2 separate regions of the Homo sapiens genome follow, and region 2 is linked to region 1. Evidence: promoter capture Hi-C in human tissues and cell types (Jung and others, 2019). All regions are on one chromosome and are shown on one strand. Each heading gives the region's core, a stretch centred on a gene start or on the middle of the fragment in contact. The rest is flanking DNA. Distances are from core to core; before and after follow the strand shown. Region 1 holds the start of TTC8 (tetratricopeptide repeat domain 8). Region 2 overlaps TDP1 (tyrosyl-DNA phosphodiesterase 1).

What was found. Contacts are between HindIII fragments. The study calls those that stand out against the background at their distance.
Region 2: a contact is called between a fragment that was not itself captured here and the fragment with the promoter of TTC8 in region 1, in 1 of the 25 tissues and cell types used here (dorsolateral prefrontal cortex).

The regions. Positions count from the first base shown.
Region 1 is chr14:88,821,769-88,826,335 of GRCh38, reverse strand. TTC8 (tetratricopeptide repeat domain 8) reads right to left here and starts at 1,685. Exons shown (of 15, transcript NM_144596.4): 1 at 1,515-1,685. The coding sequence starts at 1,628. RefSeq lists an enhancer at 1,674-2,033. The HindIII fragment of the contact is 5,735 bases long and covers 1-4,567 here.
Region 2 is chr14:90,023,855-90,028,022 of GRCh38, reverse strand. The region is part of intron 15 of TDP1 (tyrosyl-DNA phosphodiesterase 1); the gene reads right to left. Among named protein-coding and RNA genes, the nearest start is that of KCNK13, 36 kb to the left of the region's middle. The HindIII fragment of the contact is 5,501 bases long and covers 1-4,088 here.

The DNA of each region.
Region 1 (4,567 bases), core at 436-2,935:
TTTTTTAAGCAATATCTATAAGATTACTATGCCAAAAACACATTTGGGGGCTGGGCGCGGTGGCTCATGCCTGTAATCCCAACACTTTGGGAGGCCGAGGCAGACGGATCACGAGGTCAGGAGTTCGAGACCACCCTGGCTAACACGGTGAAATCCCGTCTCTACTAAAAATACAAAAAAATTAGCCAGGCTTGGTGGCACGTAACTGTAGTCCCAGCTACTCGGTAGTCTGAGGCAGGAGAATCGCTTGAACCTGGGAGGCGGAGGTTGCAGACAGCCGAGATCGCGCCGTGCCACTGCACTCCAGCCTGGGCGACAGAGCGAGACTCCGTCTCAAAAAAAAATAAAAAAAAATAAAAAAAATTTAAAAAAACCTTGGAAAAATGCTTGTCTACAGAAATATAGTCCTATTAATTAATGTGAACTAACAACAGAACCTAGCTTTGTATTACCACTAACGTAGGCTGTTCTAAGAGAGATGTACTATCTGAAAGACAAAATGTTCATCTCAGCAGGTTATCATCCATCATCCATTTGCTGGGAGCTAAGGCAGAGCCTAGTAACAGCATTCACACTCAGGCCTCCGCTTTTGTAACTCCCTTCAATTTTCCATTTTTTCTAACATCTCCAAGGCAACACCACTAGAGGAAAAGCTAGGGAACTAGAACTACGTAGGTATATTCCGCACTTACTAAAAGCACTGACAAACTGCCGCAGCGCTACTTCTGTTCTCCCATTTTCTCCTTTTTTGCCTATTCCAGGAGCCACCTGCCCACCAGAATTGTACCGCTCACGTACATTGTATACTACCTTTTCCACTCGCTATACACATTACTCTAGTTTAAGTTCTCTTTTCATCAATGCCATCATTCCTTCTTGTAAGGAGCCTTTCTTTCCCATTTCTCCCTCCTACAATTAGAGCTTCCCTTGCCTAGGTAATTTTTTAAATAATGAATGTATCTTTCTCCCTCCTAGATTCTCATTCTTCTAATTTGCATATTTGCCTCAAGCTAAACTCATGGCCTCCTTCACTCTTGGACAACAGTCTAAAGATGAGGTGGGAGGATCACATGTTCGATCCAAAAGGAAGAAGGCAGCTATGTTAACAGGAGGTGGAGAGTCACAGATCTTTGTTTATGCATATTTTTTAGAAATTAACAACGCACACGCTGAGAGCTTAAAGCCCATCAATATGCAAGTATAAACGAATTATCAAAGTTCCTCGTCAAGTAAAGTTCAGGGCTCTCATTCTGGGACACGTATAGGGGAGGGGAGGCTGAAAATTGTGAGGAGGGGGCGGTCATGGCACAGAACTTGCTATCCCCGTGGACGTGGCGGACAGCGGACCCGCTAGTCACAGCTCCACAAGGTCTCGCTCCGGGCGCCTCCGAGGGCCGAACGGTCAGCCCCGCCTCGGGCCTTCCTCCCCGGCCTCCCAACCCGGGGCTGGGATATGCCCCAGACCCCGCAGCCTCAGCGTCAGGATGCACAGGCTGACGGGAGCTGGCCGGTACCTGGTCATAAGGGGACTTCTCCAGCATCTGCGTGCATAGATCGGCGCAGAGCTGGAACTTCCTGCGCCTAAAATAGCTCCAGGCCAGGAGCAGCGGCTCCATCTCCGAGCTCATGGCTGCCGGTGCGGCCAGCGAAGGCCCAGCGCTCCAGGAGAGAGGTGGGCGTGGAGTGAAGAGCTGGCGGCGTCCGACTCTGCCCGGCAACCCGCGACGGCTGGGGCCTTGTCCGAGAGGTGCCCGCAGCGCGCCTGAGAACAGGAAAAAGAAAAACAACCGCAAGCAGAACTCGGCTACAGGGCTTGCCTAAACTTGGTTGGAAAAAGATGTCTACTTTTAAAGGCTACAGGTTTCATTGATTTTGAAAAGAAGGCACCGCGGCTAAACAAAAAGGTAGTGAGTTAGACACCTGCCCCTGGGGTCCCCCACCCTCCCAGGAGGCGCAGCTGCCTAGCAACCGAATGCTCTGCCTGCCCTGCAGGTCCGGAAGAGTCCCTGGAGTTGATCTCTGTCTGGTGTCTGTCCTACTTCTTCCATTCGCTCGTTTCCATCCCTTTCGCTTTACCTTCCGATTCTAGAAATACAAACAAGTAAACAGCTTCCACAGTACCATCCACCCATCAAGACCTAAAGTCCTAAATCCTGAAATTGTCCGCTGTTTCTCGAGGTCCTTCCCACCGAATCTCAACATCTGAACTGCAAGTGGTTTGCTTTTACTCATTTTACAGATGAGAAACTGAGATAGACTCAGAGAAGAGAAATTATTAAAATTGCATTGAGTTAGGGAGCTGGAACTGCAATCTGGTTGACTACAAGTTGCTAATACATTTGTTAATTCGACTCACATGGTGATTCCGGATTGTAAATTGGTGACAGTTTTACCAAACTAGATAATGTGTGCAAAATAATAATAATAATAATAATAATAATAATTTTTAAAAGCTTTGTGAAACATCGTCTCCTGGCACTTGCTGTTTGGCAAGGGTTTACTTGTGCAGAGTGATTTCTTCAAACACAATTCTGACTTTTCTCTAGAAATTTGCACAGATGACAAATATGCTTAAAATTGCAATGGTTATGAAAAGAGAGGTGTGACCGGCTAAATCCAGGTAGGCTTTTCTCAAACCACTGGGGTCTGAGAAAACATTAGACATTCTATTTAATCCACATATTTATATTTTTCATAGGTATTAAAATGAAACTTATGCTTCTAAACTAAGAAATTTATTGTTACCTTTTATTCTCTACTAAGCAGTCTTTCTTGAATTGTTGTATTTTGGAAGTCAGTAATTATCAGGATTGTCATTGTTACAGTTAAGTGTATTGTCATTAGTCTATTTGTGTTCTCCTGGAACTGCCGGTAGAAATGTAATCTCCCTAAAGGTCCTAATGAAGCAGCCCATGGTTTCTGAGTGTCAAATTTTTAAGAACGCACATGCCGACAATTGACAATTGGGCTCAATATTTCACAGCGTCTTTTTGTTTTCTGGTACACTGTAAGCAGATTACTATGTAAGTGATTTTCAACCCTACTAGAGAAAGTGAAGCACAGAGAAACCCTTTAAAAGGGTCAGTTTCACAAATGATGCTAGATCTCAGTTCATAGATCCTTATCTTTTACTCTCTAGCATATAGTCAGATGTTCTAAATAAACTTTTTTAAAGAATAGTTTTCGATTTACAGAAAAGTCACAAAAATAGTAGACAGTTCCCATATACCCAGTTTCTCTATTGTGTGAGATGTTGACATTTGTTTTAGTGTAAGATGATACATTTGTTACAACTAAGGAATCAACAATGGTACATTACTATTAAATAAACTCCACAGTTTATTTGGATTTCAGTAGTTTTCCCTTAATGTTATTTCTCTATTCCAGGATCTCACTTAGGGTACCACATAACATTCGGTTATCATGTCTCCTTCACCTCCTCTGACACTGTGGCAGTTTTTTAGACATTCCTTGTTTATGATGACCTTGACAGTGTTGAAAAGTGCTGGTCAAGTATTTTGTAGAATATCTGAGAAGTTCTTAAAAATAGAGATGTCCCAATTCCAGCCCTAGAAATATTGACTTAAATTGTTTGAGGTAGGACTGGGGCATCGGTTTTGTTTTTTTAAGTGTCTCAGGTGATTCTGATGGGTAGCCAGGATTAATCACCCACTACATTGAGTTCTAGTCATGTATCTATTGAGATTATTGCCAACTTCCTACAGAGAAACACTATTTACATAAGTGGGGAAATAAACATGCCAATAAACATATAAATAAATGTGGAACAAATGAGGCATTAAAATATTTTAGTAGCATATAATGTGTGTTAACTTCTTTCAGAAGGCTGTTTTTTTCCTCTCACAAAAGTCAAATGAATGAGGAAAATTGTAGGATATTTAGTAAATTACAGGATGTTAAACATGTCCAAATGTAGCATAAAATGTGTCTTTAAAAGGATATAAAAATATGTTATTTTTAATATCATGTAAATATGTTTATGGTTCATTGATTTTATGAATTTATAGACAGACTTACATTTTTTAATAATATCTAACTGATAAAGCAGAAACCATTTTTTTAAAGATATGCTAGTAATAGGAAGAATAGACAATGTAACAATTCCTGGTGAAGGGAATAGATAAGAGTTACTAGGACCATTTTCCTCCTAGAGAAAGTGAAGCACAGAGAAACAAGCCCTTTAAAAGGGTTAGTTTCACAATCGATGCTAGATCTCAGTTCATAGATCCTTATCTTTTACTCTGTAGCAACTAGATATTTCTTTAGGTTAATCAGTCTTAAATCAAATACCTAAGGTAATTTAACTTTAAATGCCAAAGTTTAAATTTTCTTAAATGTTAAATTGGAATTATTCTGCACATTTAACCCAAAAGAAAAACAAAAGGCATAAAATGAGATATTTTCTTGGTCAACAAGTATTTGCCCGGGCTCTGTGCTTGGTGGTAAGAATGCAGAGATCAACAAGACAGATCTCCTGGCCGGAGAGTACTTATACACAAAGAGTAATTAGCACGAAGAGCACTGGACTTAAGGTTAGATTTAGCAG
Region 2 (4,168 bases), core at 89-2,588, 1.2 Mb before region 1:
AGAAAAGAGTGCAACGTCATCACAGAAGTGACATCAAGATTCTGATTTGACTGAAAACCCATGGAGTATCAGCCCCTGCTTTCAACCTTCTGTTGAACTGTGTGGCTTATATGCTGTTGCTGCTACTGCTAATGTCAACTGCAACCTTTACTGAGACTTGCTAAGTACCAGGCACTGTTGTAAACACTTTATGGGTTATAACTCTTGATCTCACATGAGATCCTATGAGTTACATTGTTTCCATTGTACAACGAGAAAAAGGGGCCTACGGAAGTAGAATAAGGAGGCCAAATCTAACACAGCTTGTAAGCAGGATCCTAGCTCCTCTCTGTCTCACTTCAAAGTTCATTCTCTTTCTCTCATTTTGGCTCCTAGAGATCTGAGGTCCCTAAGGGATCTGTCCAATGTGTTTCCCCATATTCTCTTACCAAGTTACTTCAGAGTCTCTGAGACAAAGAGCAGTAGATCCCAGGATCACACTGCTAGTAAAAAGGGGCCATTGCTGCTACAGCCTACGTGCATTAATATGCTAACAAATACTTGTGGGTGGCTGGAGCCTGGGGGACATGCTGTTCCAGCTCACAGTGGACCTTGATGTCACACAAAGGAGTCCGGACATCATCTCGTGGGCCAAAGATTGCTGCTGAGGGTTTAAGGGCAGAGGAACACAGACCCTGACATGTGGGTAGAAACCCAGCAGTAGCCTGAGATGGGGAAAACAGGGAGGGAAGGGTCAGTTCATCCAGGGGAGAGAGAAGGTGACAACCAGTAGGAACAGGCAGAGAAATTCTTGCCAGGAATGCTCATCATCACTGGCCATCAGAGAAATGGAAATCAAAACCACAATGAGATACCATCTCACACCAGTTAGAATGGCGATCATTAAAAAGTCAGGAAACAAGAGGTGCTAGAGAGGATGTGGGGAAATAGGAACACTTTTACACTGTTGGTGGGACTGTAAACTAGTTCAACCATTGTGGAAGACAGTGTGGCGATTCCTCAAGGATCTAGAACTAGAAATATCATTTGACCCAGCCAACCCATTACTGGGTATATACCCAAAGGATTGTAAATCATGCTGCTATAAAGACACATGCACACGTATGTTTATTGCAGCACTATTCACAATAGCAAAGACTTGGAACCAACCCAAATGTCCATCAATGATAGACTGGATGAAGAAAATGTGGCACATACACACCATGGAATACTATGCAGCCATAAAAAAGGATGAGTTCATGTCCTTTGTAGGGACATGGATGAAGCTGGAAACCATCATTCTCAGCAAACTATCGCAAGGACAGAAAACCAAACACCACATGTTCTCACTCATAGGTGGAAATTGAACAATGAGAACACATGGACACAGGGTGGGGAACACCACACACCGGGGCCTGTCGTGGGGCAGGGGGAGGGGGAGGGATGGCATTAGGAGATATACCTAATGTAAATGATGAGTTAATGGGTGCAGCACACCAACATGGCACATGTATACATATGTAACAAACCTGCACGTTGTGCACATGAACCCTAGAACTTAAAGTATAATAATAAAAAAAAGAAAATAAATTCTTGCCAGGGCAGATGGTATAGGATGTGGACAGGTGAGAGGAAGGAGTAGAATGCAAGGGCCGTGGCTTTATTCGCTGGATGCGAGAACATCAGCAGGTACCAAGATACGCCATGTCAAATTGTTGCCCGGCTGTGGCCTCCTGGGAAACCCTGGGGACCCATAACAGATGGGCTGGGCCCAAGGCAGGTAGGCAGCATTGGTGTCAGGAGGAAGAAGACAAAGAGAGGGTTAAGGTGGTGGCTCTTGTAAACTGTATTAGTTCTTCCAGCCAGAGCCACATCATAAGAGTGCATGTACTTTTGGTACACACCATGTTTACAATGAAAAAATTTAAACAGAACAGAGAAAAGAGAAAGTAGAGACTTGACTTTTTGGAACCCACTAGCACAGGACCAAGTGACCCTGGGGCTCAGAAGAGGCTGAGACCAGCACAGGGACACCTGGGCTACTTTCATCCGGAAGTAAGCAGTATTGGACCCTGATCCAGGCTTCTCAGATGCTTATGTGCAATATTATTCCCAGAGGCAGGAGGAATTCTAGCCACAGTGCACTAGGCAGGCTCAAGTCTAGTGCCTACTCAGTGGCTGACAGAGTATGTGCTCAATAAACACCAAAGGAATGAGGTCCAAAGAGAGAAGTACTTGTACCTCCCTGATATATTCACAGAGGCCTTTGGGTTTGGAATACAGCTACTGATCTTTGAAATAATCACAGCTTTCCTATATTGAGACTTTCTGAACCGTAGTCTAATTTAAAAGTTAAATACACTTAAAGGGACAACCCAGAAAACATTACATAATTGATAAATTGATTTTAGACCTGAAAAGAATAAAGTCTTTGATTTAAATTAACAAACTTTTATTAGGCGACTACTACTACTATACACCAAACATCACTAAGTACTGGGCATACAAAGTCAAATGTACCTTGACATGACTCTCCAAAGCTCTTGAAAGTGTTCTTAGTCAAAGGGGAAGCTATTGACAACATACTTTACAAGTTAGGTTTCTCTCAAAAGGATGTATTTCCAGATTTATTCACTTAAAAAAACAAGAAAAAAAATAGGAACACATGGTACCAGCGACTTATCAGCCTCCAGATCAATCCCAGGTTTCAAATGGCATCTTTATCATGAATGGGAAATGCTGGTTCTCCACCTGCTGTATTTTTAGTTCACAGTAGTGTCACATCACACGGCAACTTGGTTCCAGAGTGACAGGTCCTAATCATGGCTGTGGGGAAGTAGAGAACTGCAGGATTCCTTTTCTAGGTGAGGCCTCTGCAGTGTGTGACACTGTGCCATTCTGGGCACTAAGCTTGACTATCTGCAACAATGGCTCCAAATGAGCCCCTCAGAACACAGCAAGTGACACGGCCTACTGGTGAAGGACAAAAGTGGCAACTCTGGCTGCTGATACCTCAGACATGTGGGTGGTGCGGACACAGAGTTCTACCCAAGAGATATGAAGGAGGGCTGATCTCAAGGAAGTAAATTCTGGATGATGTCCAGTCTGAAGGATGTCTAAAAAATTCTGTATTAAGTAAGTCTATTTGGCAAACATGAAGCCAAAAACACTAAAAGGCATGTCTTGCTGGTACTGAACAGGGAAACCTAAAAAAAGATATTAACTCCTGGCCTCATTTTATGATAAACTGCATTCTTGTCAGTAAACATTTTAGGATTATGATACAGAAATCTTTAAGATATTTATTAAATTAATTTATAGGGATTGGCATTTGTAAGTACTGCAGTGGACTCCTAAGCGTATGTGTATTTTAATTTCAAGACAGCTACAGATGAGCTATTCCATACTGCAAATTGCTTTACAACACAGTTTGTGAACATATTTAAGCACCTACTGCACACAATACCCACTGGACCAAAATCACAGTCTCCATACTGTTTCACACACTTCTCACATTGTTCGGTATGGATCAACTTAAAGGAAACAACTTCAACTAACAGACACTTAGGAAAAGCCTCCCACATGACCCATTCAGCTCACTCTGGTCCAGGAGACAAGAGTCAAAGGTCACAATGCAAGGTGGGATATGTGCTGAGCCCCAGGTTCTAGAAAGTTGTGGATGCAGAGGAGGGGTGCCTGGAGTGGAGACAGGTGCAGCAGGCAGAGGTGGGGCGTAAAGGTGTCATTCTCAGTACAGATTATGGCTGGCTAGCAGGGTGGACCTGGCTCGTAGTGAGAGCCATGAGTTCTGCACAGCATAAACAGTAAGTACCAGGAACGAGAGGTTAGGAGTCGGAGCACGAAGGGGAAAAGAAGCCCTGCTAAGGAGGCTGGATTCTACCTTACAGGATCTCCAGCAGGTAACAAAACCAGATCTGTGGTCTACAAGGCCCATTCCCACAGTGGACTGAGGAGTAGCATAGATGTGGCCCAGGGAGGTGAAGTGGGGGCCATGGCAGTAACAGCTGATTCGCCCAGCATGTGATGTTGCGGGGGTGTTCAGAGGGAACAGATTATCAAGAAGCATTAAGGAGTGAGAAATGACAAGATCTTTTGGGAGGCTGAGAAGGATCACTTGAGCCCAGCAGTTCAAGACCAGTCTGGGCAACATGGCAAGACCGCATCTCTA